Linked DNA regions of Homo sapiens: all the other regions are linked to region 4. The links are contacts of gene promoters, found by promoter capture Hi-C in blood cells and fetal thymus (Javierre and others, 2016). All regions are on one chromosome and are shown on one strand. Each heading gives the region's core, a stretch centred on a gene start or on the middle of the fragment in contact. The rest is flanking DNA. Distances are from core to core; before and after follow the strand shown.

Evidence for each region. The method cuts DNA at HindIII sites, captures the fragments that hold promoters and counts their contacts. A CHiCAGO score of 5 or more calls a contact.
Region 1: a contact is called between a fragment that was not itself captured here and the fragment with the promoter of MEGF9 in region 4, in 4 of 17 cell types (monocytes, non-activated CD4 T cells, neutrophils and 1 more). The highest score is 8.4, in monocytes.
Region 2: a contact is called between a fragment that was not itself captured here and the fragment with the promoter of MEGF9 in region 4, in 1 of 17 cell types (monocytes). The highest score is 7.0, in monocytes.
Region 3: a contact is called between a fragment that was not itself captured here and the fragment with the promoter of MEGF9 in region 4, in 1 of 17 cell types (monocytes). The highest score is 5.4, in monocytes.
Region 5: a contact is called between a fragment that was not itself captured here and the fragment with the promoter of MEGF9 in region 4, in 7 of 17 cell types (monocytes, activated CD4 T cells, naive CD8 T cells and 4 more). The highest score is 8.0, in monocytes.

The regions. Positions count from the first base shown.
Region 1 is chr9:120,938,488-120,941,705 of GRCh38, forward strand. No RefSeq gene overlaps it. Among named protein-coding and RNA genes, the nearest start is that of C5-OT1, 13 kb to the right of the region's middle. The HindIII fragment of the contact is 420 bases long and covers 1,142-1,561 here.
Region 2 is chr9:120,873,266-120,876,497 of GRCh38, forward strand. PHF19 (PHD finger protein 19) reads right to left here. Exons shown (of 15, transcript NM_015651.3): 2 at 1,291-1,491; 3 at 714-795. The coding sequence starts at 1,476. Among named protein-coding and RNA genes, the nearest start is that of PHF19, 2.3 kb to the right of the region's middle. RefSeq lists enhancers at 1-323, 324-949, 2,760-3,232 and a silencer at 2,943-3,232. The HindIII fragment of the contact is 4,096 bases long and covers 1-3,232 here.
Region 3 is chr9:120,854,528-120,857,914 of GRCh38, forward strand. It overlaps PHF19 (PHD finger protein 19), which reads right to left. Exons shown (of 15, transcript NM_015651.3): 15 at 1,124-3,387. Among named protein-coding and RNA genes, the nearest start is that of PSMD5, 13 kb to the left of the region's middle. RefSeq lists enhancers at 1,208-1,709, 1,710-2,209. The HindIII fragment of the contact is 2,493 bases long and covers 5-2,497 here.
Region 4 is chr9:120,712,803-120,715,992 of GRCh38, forward strand. It overlaps MEGF9 (multiple EGF like domains 9), which reads right to left and starts at 1,668. Exons shown (of 6, transcript NM_001080497.3): 1 at 956-1,668. The coding sequence starts at 1,556. RefSeq lists a silencer at 1,356-2,205. The HindIII fragment of the contact is 2,825 bases long and covers 1-2,403 here.
Region 5 is chr9:120,954,432-120,957,358 of GRCh38, forward strand. It overlaps C5 (complement C5), which reads right to left. Exons shown (of 41, transcript NM_001735.3): 39 at 2,854-2,927. Among named protein-coding and RNA genes, the nearest start is that of C5-OT1, 3.1 kb to the left of the region's middle. The HindIII fragment of the contact is 2,191 bases long and covers 537-2,727 here.

The DNA.
Region 1 (3,218 bases), core at 102-2,601, 230 kb after region 4:
ATGGGATACAGTGTGGTGCAATGAACGTGGAATGGTGAAAGGTCTTTAGAGACTGGGGGAGTGGCCCAGCACAGTGGCTCACACTTGTAATCCCAGCACTTTGGGAGGCCAAAACGGGTGGATCACTTGAGGTCAGGAGTTCAAGATCAGCCTGGCCAACATGGTGAAACCCCATCTCTACTAAAAATACAAAAATTATCCTGGCATGGTGGTGCACGCCTGTAATCCCAGCTACTCAGGATGCTGAGGCATAAGAATCACTTGAACCTGGGAGGTGAAGGTTGCAGTGAGCCAAGATCATGCCATTGCACTCTAGCCTGGGTGACAGAGCAAGACTTCTTCTCAAAAATAAAAAGAGAGAGAGAGATTGGGGGAGTGTCTAAAAAGCCCATGGACATGCCCATGAAAGAGTCCGAGTCTGCTTTAAAGCCCTTGAAAGCCATCTTATGGCAGTACTGGTCAAGTAAGCTCTTCTGCTCCCCTTTCTTCTACCTTTCCTCCCTACCAATCCCTCTAGTGCTGGAGAGGTCAGAAGTCACAGCTTGCACAGCAATGTGAATATACTCAACACTACTGAACTGTGCACTTGGGAGTAGTTAAGATGGTAAATCTTATGTTACGCATTTTAAATTTATTACAATCTTAAAGAAAGAAGCAGCCACACTAAACAGCCTTAGTAAGCTGAGAAGGAAACTCCAGGGAAAGAAGCAGCTGCCCGTGACACTATTCCCAGCTATAGGGGTCCCAAACCTGCAGCAAGCCCTGTTTGGGAGAGAAGATTGTATTTTAAATCAAGTTGAGAATTTTGCTTTTGTATGGGACTGAACATCAAATTTATGAATAGAGTTGTTTGGTGACTGAAGTGATCATAGGACTTTTTAGTTCCTAAGAGTGATCACAACAGTCATAAGATGCTTGAGTTTTCCTTAAAGGATAGAGAAAGGATATCTCTCCCTTCCCTTTGAATAAATCTTTATAGGGAGCTGGAAGGCAAAACAAAGTTGACTTATGAGTATGCACAGGGAGTCCTACTTACTTAATTTAGCAATTATATTTGCTTTTGTAAAATGGGATCTCTCCTTCCATTATATTTTTCTAATTGGTGTTGTTTGCCTCTATCACATCTTCCAAAGCAACTAAAAGCTTGGGCTTACCTCAGATAAAGGCACTTAACCATTACCTGAAAGATCAGCTGTGCTTCAGGCTTTAAACCCTTAATTGCTCGGTATTCTCATGTTCACAGGTTGAGGGACTCAGTATTAACGTGCCTTTGTTGCAAGTTCTTGTAAACAAAGACAGTAAAATTATGGTTCTGATGTTCTATTAATTGTCATTAATTTATACCTACCAAGTGTCAGGTCTTGTGCTTAGGATACAGAGAAGAACAAGATACAGCCCCTGTCCGCCAGGAGCTCACAGTGGGATAGAAGGCCATGATAAGAAATCAATGAGAAGGCTGTGGGTGGCAGGAGCTCCAGCACAGATGTGTTTCCAGAGAAGGACTTACAGGGGCTTGTCCTGAGTGTACCCTTGATGCTGGCACTATGTCTGGCCCATGATAAGCTTCCTGTCCCAGGCCATGTGCTTCCAGGAAGTTATCCTTGCTTAATTCTATGTCTACTCCGATTACTTCTTTACTTTATCATCTCAGCACTTTGCAATTCAGCCTTGTGTTCATTTACCCTGGTGCTGCAAATACAGGGAACACACATAATGCACAGGATACTGACATGCTGTGTATCTCAGGGCACTCAGAAGAGCTGAAGCTATGATTTGAATCCATAAAGTTTGACATCTGCTTCCCATTCGTAGGCAGTTATTACAAAGTGGCAATCACTGCCTTTGTGATGATCATAAGCATTTTTCATGCTCCTACCTAGTCTTTAAAATGATTCTTTTTAGAGGCTGCATAATATTTCATGGAATATGCATTCTGTCATTTACATGTAATTATGAGTAATAATTACAATTTCCCCCTTTCGAACTATTAATTTATATGTCAGGTTTTTTATATCACACAAAGTACTTCAATAAATTACAGTGGTATTGCTTTATATACCATAATTCTAGATTCATAGTAATTCTAGGCTAATTCCTACTTGATATCTCCACAAGAATGTCTAAAAGGCTTCTTAAACATAACAAAGCCCTGACAGAAATCCTTCTTCTCTTCTGTATTTGCTTGTGAGCACTGGGTAACAAAGTGCCACAAACTGGGTGGCTTGAAACAACAGAGATGTATTCTCACACGGGGCTGGAGGTTAGAAGTCTGAAAGCAGTTTCGGCAGGGTTGGTTTCTTCTGGCCGGCTCTGAGGGCGGACCCGTCCCGTGCCTCTCTCCTGGCTTCAGGTGACAGCAGTGGTTCTTTGCCTTCCTTGGTTTGTACATGCATTACTCCAATTTCTACCTCTGTCTGCATGCGACCGTCCTCTCCCAGTGTCTGCATCTTCACGTGAGGTTTTCTCTGCGTATCCCTGTGTCTACATTTCCCTCTTCTCATAAGGACACCTGTCATTTTAGATTAAGAGCCACCCTATTCCAGTGTGACTTCATCTTACCTTAGCTAATTACACATGCAACAAACTTATTTCCAAATCAGGTCCTACTCTGAGGTACTGTAGATTTGAATTTCAACATATCTTTTTGAGTGACGTAGTGTTCAACCCATAACATCTTCTTTCCTTGTTTTCCTAAATGTGTACCTTCTCCTGTCTTCTCCAGCTGTGTAAATGGCATCTGCAGCAGTGCAAGCCAGGAATCCGTGAGTAATCCTTGACTCCTCTGCATTCATTACCCCACCCTGATTCCTTCAGCAAATCCTCTCAGCACCACTTCCAAAACTATCCTGAATTCATCCCTGTCTCTTCATCTCCATTTCTTCCTTTCTAGTTGAAGCTACTGTTACCTGTCACATGACAATGGCACCAGCTCCTCACTGGTCTCCCCTGACTCTGTTCTCATCTACAACCTGGTCTCATGCCCTTTTGCTTAATACTCTCAACTGCATAGAATCCAAACATCTCACCAGTTCTTACAAAATCCCAGTGATCTGGCCCCTCTCACTTCTCTGACCTCATTGTCCATCACTTGCTTTCTTCGATCCAGCCACGTCAGCCTTCTCGCTGTTCCCTGGACCCCTGGGTCTTTACACGCACCAGCCTGGACCTTCATGTGGTTGTTCCTTCTTGTCAAGAAAATCTCAGCTTAAATGCCACCT
Region 2 (3,232 bases), core at 126-2,625, 160 kb after region 4:
TTGAAAGTACATGTGTTGTCAATGGCTACTGATGTCTGTTGTGTGTATGGGAAGGGAGAATGGTGGCAAAGATGGCCCTGACTTGCCATCTCTGCAAGGGAGAGATGTCAGCTTTCTGAAGGCAGGGATGATACCCAACCCAGATTCATTTCAGCCCTAAAAGCTGGTCTAGCTCCATCCAGGCATGTCCATCTTCACCCTGCCTGGCTCACCTCTGCTTTATTGGTTTTTCTCCCATTCCTCCCAACTCCTTGCCCCGTGGAGAAGGCTGCTTCCATTAGTTTTATTCATATGTTAAATCAGGGACACTGTGCTTGCATCTAGAGCTGACAATTCTGAATACCTGGGCACGCCCCCTTTTCTAGCCCAGACTGACGCAGAGCTTTGAGCAGCTGCAGCTGTAGTGCAGCCAGGAAGCAAACGCAGGCCTGAGGCCCAGTCCTGGCCCTCCCAGCACCTCCCTAAGCTACCTTCCCCACCTGCCCATCCTCCCTCCTGGGGTATGAATTCTCAAGGGGATGACTCATGTCCTAAGTACCTTCCTAAGTCAATATACAACCAGATTTGATCATCATCACAGGTGGGCTTGGGGTTCATGGTCAAGGGCAGATGCCAGGAGTAAGAGATGGAAGGACAGAAGGAAGAAATGAAGGCAGCAGAGGAGAGAAGACCTGGGGAGGTTGGGGGCTACCCGAAATGTTAGGAAAACTCACCATGCTGTATGTCCTTCCATAGGACCCAGTATTTGGAATTATCTTCGAAAGTCACGAGGCAGCTTTGCTTAGAGCTGCTGACCTGGGGTACAGATAGGAAGGAGCAAGTGAGAAAGGGCTGGGGAAAAGCCAACCTGGAACATAGTCTTCCTCCCCCATTTTTGTCTCCGTATGTTCCAGAAAGCAGGGCTAGAAGGGGAAGAAGGATGGCAGTTCCTGGACAGGGTGTACTCCTAGTCACCTGGAGTCGTACAGCCAGGGACCGATGGATGGCAACTTGGTCAGAATGTTGAGGACAGAAGCACAAGTCAGATGCTCCTCTGTGATCCTCTCAAACCTGACTTTTTTGTTTTGTAGGCTCTCAGAGCACTTTTCTAAAGAACTAGTTGGATGATGTTGACCCTAGGGATGGTGCCTGCAAGACCAGGCTCTGGCCCCTCCCACCACCAGCTTTGGGCATGAGGGACAAGAAGGGAATTCTCCAGCAATCCCCCTGCCCCCTGGTCTGACAGCCAGGCTGGAACATGAGCAGAGAGATTCTGAGTCTGAGAACAGGGGCCAGAGAGGATGGGTTTACCCTCTTGATCTTCCCGAGGTAGTACAGGCCATCTGTCCACCGGCACAGCACATACTGGCCCTCCGTCAGTTTGGACATCAAGTCTTTGAAGTTGTTCTTGACCTTCGCCAGGGCCCCCTTGTTGGGGAGGTGGCTGGTGGCACCATAGGAGTCCCGAGTCCCTGGATCCAGAGCTCGATTCTCCATCAGCTTCCCCTGACACTGGGAGAGAAAGAACAGGGTTTTTGCTTCTTGCTTCCCTGCTTCAGAAAGCCCATCAGGGGAAGGAAGGAAACCACCATTTCTGTACCCTGTGCTATAAGCCAGACTTGGTTATTATCTCACTGATTCCTCGTGACCATCCTATGAGGGAGACATTATTATTATTCACATCTTACAGATAGGGAAACAGGTGTGGCAAGGAGAAGAGGCTGATGGGCCAAAGGCAGAGCCATGGCCCATACCACACTACCTTTTAAAGAGAATGGATCTCTCAACCCACACAGAACAAAGTCCCCTACCCAGCGGGCCTGAACCACTCCCTGTCTCAGGAGGCTGAGGTTTTATTCCTTAAGCAAACACAGTCCATGTGCTCTGGATGGAGGATCTTCTCCAGGCAAGCAGTTGGGTTTTGTTTTTACCCCCAACCCCTGCAACCATCCCTAACCTGAGATCTGTCCAGAGAAAATTCACCTAGAAAGGAAAACTGGGTGGCTTGTAGCTAGTGTAGACTGGGTCATCTGTCTTTTGTAATCCCCCCTTCTGTTCTCAATTATGAGATGATTTAATGGAAACCAATTCTGGGACATTTAAACCCACTTATGCTTTCACCCAGATACACATTTGCTCCAAGCAGTGAAGTCATCCATCCCCATGCCAGCCTCTCCACGCCTGTCTCTCACCATCCTATTCAACGTGCAGTTCACCCATCGATTTCTCTCTCCCTGCCTGTGGTACTGCCTTCATGCATCTCAAACTCCTCCAAGCAATTAGTTGCCACAGCCGGCCCATTTTAAGTGCCATGATTTCTGGCTTTCCAGCTCTAGCTTCCATCCTCCTGCCCTGGTCTCAGTTCAGGCCTCATCTTTTGCTTGGGCCATTCATTCATTCATTCATTCACCCAATAACAGTTTCCTGGGCCTTGTGCTTACCTCCACTAGGCACCTAGGGTGGGGAACGGTACTACCAGCACCCAGTGCTAAACAGGCCGTTCCTGCATTCCTGCCTCTCCACCAGACTCTTCCGCAGGGCCACCAATTTCCTTCCAGAAACTTTCTGGGGCTCCCCACTGCCCTCACTGGTGCTCAAAGCCGTCCCTAACGCCCCCTCCTTTCTGCTGGGCTCACCTGGCTCCAAGTCCCTCCACATGCTCTCCACTACAGCCACACACAGCCTCTCTCTTTCCCCGCGGGCCTACTCGGGTCTCCTCCTTGTGGCCATGGCGCTGGGCACCTGGTGTTGTGACTATCTGTTCACAGGGAGAGAGTCCAGTGCCTGTTTCTGTGTGGTGCGTGTGTGTACTCCTGTGAGACTGGGCAGGATGATGTCTACGGCATTGTGCCAGGGAGTGTGTGAAGCTAAGTATGTGCGGGGCCCTGGGGCGAGCCAGGCACTGCAGGGGTCTCGGCTCCCCAGATGGTGGCGTGGCCACGACCTTCTCCACCCCCACTCCCATCTCCTTTTTCTCCAGCGCAGAGCGCACAGGCTCCCGGGCAGGGGATGCGGTCTGAATCCCTGTCCTCTCCCTGCCACCTGGCTCGCCCGGCGCTGCGAGGTCCCCGCCCGCCCGGCCAGGGGCCAGGCCGGGGCCGCTGCAGGTTCACAAACTGACACTTCCTCTCCCGCTGCGCCTCTAGGAGCCGGCCGGGTCGCCGCACCCGCCTCCACCCTGGCCGGGCGGGGGCCCCCGGGTGGCGCCCCCCCAGCCCCCGCCTCCGTCCTCCCGGAGCGGGCCCCCGCGGGC
Region 3 (3,387 bases), core at 1-2,500, 140 kb after region 4:
AATAAGCTTAATATGTCTACTTAGCAAACAAAGTTTTTCCAGATACCTATAATAATGAGGAAAACAGTATAAAGAATGAAGTATTTGAAGAATAACTTATAATTTGGGGGATTTCTGAGAATTCTACTTCTTTGTCCCTAATTTCCGAAGGTAAATGTTTGTTGTGAATTTGGAAACACTAGACTACAGAAAAGCAGGCACTCTCTAGCCTGGGAGGCCCACTGATCTTAGGAGGGTCCATATAGCTGCTTATTGCAGACCTTGCACTAGAACCCAGGTCTTTTGACACCTGGTGCCACTTTTCATTCCATTCCATTAATTATAGCCCAGAGAATAACCACCACCACCCCCAAGTCCCATTGTGGTTTTATTCTGAGGACAGATAAAAGGTTGAAGCTGATGGAGTGGTAGAAAGAAGTGGGAGCCATAGTGAATGAAGACGTTTAAGGGCAGATATTAACACCACTGAGTCCTTCATTCGGGATTACAGGTTACACTTTACCCCTCAAACTGTAGAATTCAGTGGAATCCATGGCCTTTACCTCTCTATAGATGACCTTTTTCCTACCCCTTTACATCTCCTGTTTTTTTCCTCTCCAAACTGCCCTAAATTTAGAGGTTTATTTTGAAGTAATAATCAGTCACACACAGCAAAGTCTCTCCCAACACATGGGGAGCAGATGTGCTGGGATTATCACTGCCATTTGAAGGGTGATAAAACTGAAGGAAAGGAATCTGACTAAAGTGGCACAGGTTAGAACTAGCAGAGTCAGGTCTAGAACTCATTTCATATTTCTAGAATTGTGTGATGATGTACTGATAAAGTTTTACGATGCCCGGATCTAAGTATTATAATAGTGTCAATTTCTAAGTTCATTTTCCATCTTTTACCTCTCAGTGGCACTCAACTAATGTTTTTTGCCCCCAAAGGTCGGGTACTCACAAAAGATTCCATATTCTCTCTGGCAGTAAGGGTGAGAATGTTGCTGGCAGTGGTAGGAGTGGCAAGGTGGCCAGAGGACAGGGTCCTGCCATTCCTCCTCAGCCTCCAGTAAACCAAGTGCAAAAGCCAGAGCCAATTCCTTCTGCCACCCAGCAGCTAATTCACTATAGGGAAGACAAGTGATTGTTCAAAGGGAGGTTTTAAATCATAAATCAGACACATTAATTATAACTTTAACAAATGTTATTAAAAGCAGCAATTAAAAACCATGAATCTTTTTGAAGGTGCAGAGGGTTATAAGGTCAGTTGGCAGTAATGCAGCTATTATCTGGTATGAATGAAATGCTGGGGTGGGGAGTCAGGGTGACCTCATTAGGCCTTGTGCTATCTTCCCAGGTGGTGCAGACACCCCCTCCCTCCTTTTCCCTCTCCAGGCCCACAGCCTCCCCAGAGCCCAGGTAGGGAAGGTCCAGATGTACTATAACAGGATTGCTCATCCCAGGCTATCTCAGAAGTCTGGAAAGCAGGCCTAGAAGGTTGCTGGGCTCTCTGAAGCCAGGCAGGAAGCTACAAATTGGATCCCAGTTCCCACAGCACCCCTGGGCTAGGGGTTGGCTTCTCAGCTCCCCTTCCACCTGGCCCTAGTTGGCCCCTGTGGCAGCAGCTGTGGGGCTGAAAAGGGGGAAGAACTGGGTCCAACGCCAGCTCGTCTATGCCTGGGCTGTGCCAGGGAAGCAGAGGAAAGTGGGTGGGCTGTGCACAGGAGGTGAGGTCCCCCTTAAAAGGCACTGTGGGAGCTGAGGTCTAAGATGGGGGGGCATCTAAACTATCTCAGGGACCCCCTGAACGCTCACAGGTAGAGAGGGGTCAGGCCTAGCAATGGAAAAACAGCTCCTGCAGGCCTGCTGCCCCGCCAGTGCCTCTTGCTGTACTACCACCTTCGCCTTCCTGCTGGCGGCCTGCAAAACCAGCCAAGCTGGAGGCCACAGCAGCAGTTGGCAAGGCTGGTCCCCATCTGGTGCCCACCCTCCACGTCAAGGCACTTTTGTCCATTTTCCAATCAAGTGAGTCAGTTTCTAATATCTCTGGAAGCAGCAAAACATCAGGGGTCCTCTTCCCCCTCCCAATTTTGGTTTCCCTCCAGATGAGGCAGAATTTGAATGTTGGTTCCAAAAATTCTCTTTCAAACCCCCACTGGCAAGGGCTTCCCTTTGAGGGAACCAAATGATGCAGGCTCTTTAAAAATTTCAACCTATCCCAAAAAGTGATTGTCCATTTCAGGGCAGGGCAAGGGATATGAAAGAGGGTGAGTCCCCTGTGCTTCCCTATGGGACCAATGCTGGTTGATGGGCTGAAAGAAGGAGCGGCCACTGAGCTTTCACATTTAGTTGCAGCACCTGGGCCCTGGAAGTGGGCCAAGGGAAAGCCAAGGGAGGAGCCAGCAGGCCCAGAGGGACGGTGTGGCTCTGTGTGTGTACACTTGGGCATGTGGTGGTGTGGCCGTGTGGGGTTGTCTGCATGCCTAGAGCTGAAAGTACAACACATGTGGATGGAAGCTTGTGCGAGTGGGTGTGTATTGTCTGCTGTGTGGTGTCTGGTGGGTCTGGGGATGGGAGGCACCAGAAACAGGTTTAGCAAGACATGGTTTCCCTCCCACCACTACCACCCCCCACCCCCGTCCCCCAGGTTTGGAAGGATGCCTCCATTCCAGCAAGGCCAGGCCCAGCTCTATGGCGACTGAGGGGGTGAGGCCAGAGAACAGAAGACTTCTGGGACCTCCAAAGCTGACATTGGCAGCCTTCACTCTCAGCCTTAATACCTGGGCCCTGGTGCTGGTGCCTTCTGAGGCAGACCCAGCCCTTTACTCTTCAGATCCTCACAGGCTTTCACAGGGGCTCTCTCCCATCCCACCACCTCTCTCCGAGGGTAGTGGGGAGTGGCAGGAAAGTGGAAGAGAAAAGCACTGAGCAGCATCCTCTTATCCACCTTCTCCCATGCTCTCTCAAAGGTGCCTGTTATGTAGTCCCTGGGAGGACTGGCTGCCCCACGGGTCACGTGTGAAGGGGATCCAGTGGAGGGACAGCTGTGCACACACAGGATGTGCGAACACACCCAGAAAGGGGCGAGAGAGGTCAAGGCACACAACTGGGGACAAAGACCTGGGCCTCAGGAGGAAGGGTCCCAGCGCAGGGGACACAAGGTCAGAGAACAGATAAACAGAGTTTGAGGGGGTGTGGAGTGTGTAGAGACACAGGCACAGGGGTAACGAGCCTGAGGAGGCCCTGGAACAGAGCTGGTACAGCAGAGAGACGCAGGCCTTGGCCTGGCAGGCAGGCAGGCAGGGCATTCTGCCAGGCACTTGCAGCTCTGTCCTGCTTCCTTCTCCCACCCCAGCCTGGAGAAAGCTGGGGAGCCTATGGCTTCTGCTGCTCCTCCTTTGGTTT
Region 4 (3,190 bases), core at 418-2,917:
AAACTTTTGTCCAAACGTTCTGACAAAGTAGGCTTTTGTTTTGTTTTGTTTTAGTCCTAGGCCCACTTAAGATTTAAACGGGGAAAGAATACGAGTTGTCTTTAACTTTGCTTGAAGACTTCAGCAAGAAAAGCCTTTTCTACGTGGGCTCAAACAGAAATTGGCATATATCAGCATCAGCAAAGTTGAACATCCTGGCTTAAGGAGACAAAAATAGGCATCCTTGCTTAAATGGTGTATTTGGCCAAACATGTTGACCTTATAATTGTGGAAGAAAAAAATGGTGCGAGGAAGAGATTTAACCTAATTTGTAAATGTGCTCAGCCTAGATACACACCTGTCCCAAATGACCTACTGAATCCACTTATTTGCAGGGACAACATGGATTACAATGCCTTTTTTGTTTTTATTTTTTGCCCTCAAGTGGTCCATACTACTGTTTGTAAACAAAATCCTCTCACTACCTCTCTTCCACCTGTCATACACACACATCTGATATTTACATAAACAAGAAGAAATGAACAGGGAAACTGGAGCTTTGGGAGGAATTCCTTACCCTCAGCTTTTGACCCAGTGGTTGAAGGAGGTACTATGCGGGCTTTCAAACTTCCCCAAATAACCCAGGCAGAGAGGCTGGGTGCGCGAACCCAACCCAAAAGTTTGCGCCCATTCTGGTCTCTGAAAAAGGCCAGAAAGCCCTGTTGGGAAGAAGATGAGATGCCTTCCACCCAGCAGCCACCCCCTCCCGAGGGAGCACAGCCCACGGGGGACAAAAGACTTTCCAGATTGATCGGGGGCGGGAGGGAGACTAGCTGGACCTGGGATCCCCCCTCGGGAGCCGGAACCTGGGGTGTCTTTGGGGTAACAAACGATAAATTATAGGCAAGAGCCCAACCCTAGATTGCCGGGGCTGAGGTGAGGACGGGTCCTGCCCGAGAGGGAGCGCCGGACTCACCTGGAGGAGGCGAAGAGGGGGCCTCGGTGGCAGGTGGGGTGGGGAGGACGCTGCTGTTGCTGCTGCTGGGGAGATCGGGGGTCGGGGTCCGGGGAGTCGTGGGCGCCGGTACGGTGGTCGCTACAGGGGTGGTCGGCGCCGGGCCAGTGGTCGTCGAAAGGGTGGTCGGCGCGGGTCTGGTCGGCGCCTGAGAGGTGGTCGAAGTGCGTTCCGCCGCCGGAGGGGTGGTCGGCGAGGGGCCGAGCGGCGCCTGAAAGGTGGTGGAAGAGGGTCCAGCAGTCGCCCAAAGAGGGGTGGTCTCCGGGGACTGGGCTGGAGAAGTCGCAGCCAGGGGTCGGTGGACGGTGGCGCGCGGGGGCCCGGTCCTCGGGGCCTGGGCCGTGGGAGCCGTCGCCCTAGGGAAGGGGTGGCTGGGCTCGCCCCGCAACCCGGGGCCCGGCGACGCGTCCACCTGCCCCGCGGCCCCGCCGCCACCGGTGACATTCCCCGCCGAGGCGGCTGAGGCGACGGCGGCGGCGGCGGCGGCGGCGGCGCAGCACAACAGGGCGAGGCCGCCCAGGCTCGGCAGGCTCCTCATGGCGCGCTCGGCTCCGCCATTCATTCATTCAGCCAGTCGGTTGGTCAGTCATCTTCTCCTCGTTGCAATCCGACCAAGGAAGCCTCCGCAACCGCCGCCGCCACCGCCACCGGGCGCACCATCGCCACCTCCCTCTGACAGGCGGCCGGCCCCGCGGGCGGGCCCCAGCGCGGAGGGAGCGACCGGACCGAGCGCGGACCGCCCGCCCTCCTCGATTGGCAGCCGCGCCTAACCAATGGGAAGCCACAGTCGCCCACGTGATCCGCCCGCTTCCCGGCCTCTTTGTAGCCCCGTAGGCCAATCAGAGGACGTCCAGGAGAGGGGGCGGTCCGTGAGGCGGGAGAAGGGTGGTGCGAGCCCAGCTCTAGCCCGCCGGGCTCGCGGCGGCCCCGGCTTTGTCTGCCCAAAGAGTGGGGCGCGGGCCTCGGGCACCGGGCGCCGCGGAGCAGACAAAGGATGCGCCCCGCGCGGCAGACGCCGGGCCTAGTCATCTGCTCCACCGGGCTGCGAGCACGAGCGGGGGGTGGAATCAGCACTCGGGAGCATCCCCGCCCTCCTGAACAATGGGGCGCCAGCGCCGCACCCCAGCTCGGGCGGGGACCGCGCGGGAACCCCGCGATGGGAGAGGGCAGCGGCAGCGACGATGTAGAGCTTGGCATGCCCTCTGCTGCTCCAGAGAGCCTGGTCGCAGCCTTGCGAGGTCTCTGCCGCCATTCCCATTTCAGAGATGGGGAAGCTGAGGCCCTTGCTGAGGGCCTCCCTGAACCGAGACCCACGCCCTCACCAGAAACCTGCTGTGGGCCAGGTGTTGTGCCAGACTGGACAAGGGGGCGGGACCGGGCGGTGGAGACCCCTGAGGGCAGAAGGTGCAAGCTTCCTGCGTGGAGGAGACAGGCTCGCAAGCACACTTACCTAAACCCCGGGAAGAATAGGATCAGACAGGGTTGAACCTCAACTTGATGTCTTTTGCTGAATGGTTTTGTGGCCTGAGCGCGGTTTTTTCACCACTAAAATGGAGATGATAGGACACCCCTCACCCCCCACCCCCCTCACAGAGCTGTTGTGAGAATTAAGTCATGGACGTAAAGGGCTTAGCCCAGAGCCTGGCCCACTGTTGTAACCCTCATTAATGCTAACTATTCTCAGCATTTGCGCCAGGGCAAGCCCAGGATTAGAAAGCAGCCCCAGGCCACAGCCCTTCAGTGCCCCCAGAGCCTCCGGCTGGTTGCAGGGGTTGGGGTGGGGCTAATAGCCGAGCTTGACCCTGGATGACACTAAACCCTGAATCAAGCTGGAATTCGGGCACGCAGCCTCGCATCATCCGCCCAGGATCCAGAGCTAGGTCAGGCGCTGCTGCTTCGGCTCAGCAGCTTCCAGAGGAAGCCAGGCAGGGCGGGTTTGTCATCTGATGGGGCTTAATTCAAGCCCCACTGCTAACCCAATCCCGGCCTCCCCTACGTGATGTTTGGCTTTGTGCATGGTTTCCCATTAGTCATTGGTCTTCAACCAGACCAGCAGGATGAGATTTATGTGTGAACCCGTGTATGTTAATTAAAGCATGCATTTATTTTCCTGCATGAGTAGTGGGTGGGGGAGGCTGTGTATGAATGCATAAACATGTTTGTGAGTCTGTGTGTATGAGTGTTGTATGTATCTGT
Region 5 (2,927 bases), core at 382-2,881, 240 kb after region 4:
TACCTGGAATGCATTCCTCCCCATGTTGGCCTCTTGAATTTCATTTATCTTGAAAGTCTCCTTCAATTCTCACAGTATCCAGTAAAATATTCCTGGATGCTCTTTGTTTTAAATATCTTTCTGTCTCCTCTTTACCTCTTTTACACTTGAATTTCTGTCACAATTTTTTGTCCCACATCTGTCCTTCTAGCTAGACTAGAAACTTCTTAAGGCATGGACTGTGTCTGATTTATCGCTATATATACAGGGCTGATATTTAACTATTAAGTTCTGGCAGAGTCATCTTAATTGTTAAGTCCTGAAAAACTTCTGAACCAATTGGCAAATAGTGTATAATAGAAACTGTGTAAATGGTAAACTTTCATTAGTGATATAAATTTCAGTGTACACCCATTAGTTCAAGCTGATTTCTTAGGCTGCCCTGATGGTGTAGATTCCTATTACGTCAATATCTGAGCAACATTACCAGTACTATCTGCCATTTCAGCCCCTGTCATAGTAAGCAGTGTAGCTGTGTGGGGCCTTATTATTTTTTAAGCTTCTCATCATGGAAAATTTAAAGTATATTCAGAAGAGAGAACAGGCAACTACCCTGGGCTTCAACAATAACTAAACTTTTATTCTTCTATATCCTTACCTATTCTAAGCACTCTGTGCTTTGGAGAAATACCAATTTATCCTTATCCTCAAACTACAGTTTGCCCTTGATTCTAAATGGCTTATGGTCACTGTGCCACAATTCTTCTGTAAGTAGTGTGTGGTATTTTTATATTTATAAAAATTCAAAATTTATGTGTTAAAAATGGGCCCAGAATGAGGAGATGAAGTATGCCAATGTTTCTTAACATTTCCTTTTAAATATCATAAAATGCATCTTTGGATCTACAGGAGAACAAAGAAGAAATGATACTAATAAAAAAATTGTAGCTTGGGAACCATCCGATGCTATGAAAAATTCAGAACAGTCTAAAATGTCTTTTGATACTATGCAAGAATCAGTATCAAATAAAACAAATAATTTGTATTTCTGGAATGAAAAGCACTTTGTTATTTCAGTAAAAAGAGAATGGCTTATTACTGCTTGTAATATGAACATTGGATGAAAATGTTGCTCAAAAGTTGGACTGTGGCAACATCAAAGTTCTAAACACTTATTTCATTAGAATGGCAACTAGCCTGCAAATTAAAAAATTGTGACCATCAATGAAGAAAAAAATAAAATAACTTCACAAATAAGTTTCATACAATGAAACTTTCAAAATAACAAAAATTTAAAAAAAATTATCAAAGTGTTGATAAAGCAAATACAAAATTGAAAAATATTACTAGAATTTTAAACTCTAGGGTATGGTTAGTAATAATCAAGCTGGGAGGCTGAGGAGAGAGGATCCCTTGAGCCTAGGAGTTTGAGACCAGCCTGAACAACATAGTGAGACCCCGTCTCAAAAGAAAAAAAATCAAGCATTTTAGGACTTGAAATATTTGATAGAATTTCAAAAGAGAAAAAAATTTAGTATAAACATATTATTGCAATTTAGCTTTATGGTCCTACTTATTGCAAAATTTATATCAATCGAAATGAGGCCAGGCACGGTGGCTCACACACGTAATCCCAGCATTTCAGGAGGCTGAGGCGAGTGGATCACTTGAGCCTAGGAGTTCAGGACCAGCCTGGCCAACATGTAAGACCCCATCTCCGCTAAGATACAAAAATAAGTCAGGCGTGGTGGTGCATGTCTGTAATCCCAGCTACTCAGGAGGCTGAGGCAGGAGAATCACTTGAACCTGGGAAACAGAGTTTGCAGTGAGCCAAGATCGTGCCACTGCGCTCCAGCCTGGGTGACAGAGTGAAACGTCATTTCAAAAAAAAAAATGTAATCCCATTCACAATAGCCACACACACACAAAAATGCCTAGGAATACAGCTAACTAGGGAGGTGAATGATCTCTACAATGAGAATTACAAAACACTGCTCAAAGAAATCAGAGATGACACAAACAAATGGAAAAACATTCCACGCTCATGGATAGGAAGAATTAATATTGTTAAAATGGCCATACTGTCCAAAGCAATTTACAGATTTAATGCTATTCCTATCATTTTTCATAAAATTAGAAAAAAACATTTTAATATTCATATGGAACAAAGAAAGAACTTGAATAGCCAAAGGAATTCTAAGCAAAAAGAACAAAGCTAGATGCCTCCTACTACCTGATTTCAAACTATATTACAAGGCTACAGTAACCAAAGCAACATGTTACTGATACAAAAAAAGACACGTAGACCAATGGAACAGGTTACAGCACCCAGAAATAAAGCCACTATCCTAAGTGAATTAACACAGTAACAGAAAACCAAATATCACATATTTTCACTTATAAGTGGGAACTAAACAGTGAGTACACATGGACACAAAGAAGGGAACACTAGACAGCAGAGCCTACTTGAGGGTAGAGGGTGAGGATTGAAAAATTACCTATTGGGTACTATGCTTATTACCTGGGTGACAAAATGATCTATATACCAAACCCCCAAAACATGCAATTTACCCATGTAGCAAATTTGCACACGTATCCCCTGAACCTAAAATAAAAGTTGTAAAGAAAAAGAAATTGGACAATTACGCAATTGAAAAAAACATTTTGCTGAAGTTTTAGAAAAATGAATTCAATGAGAAATATTTATACGAACATCTTTAAAAAATGTTTCTCCCCAAGTAGAATATAAGCTTTAAAAAGGCAAGAGCTCTGTCTTATTTGAGTTGTATCTTCTGTGTTTAATATAATGCCTGGCACATAGTCAGTACTAAATAGTTGCTGAATGAAGGAACGAATGAACGAATGAATTCTCACCAGTTTTGTAGATATCCAGAAGGGTTGCCTTGTACTTGACAAAAACATTTTCTACAGTGATGGATGTGATGCTA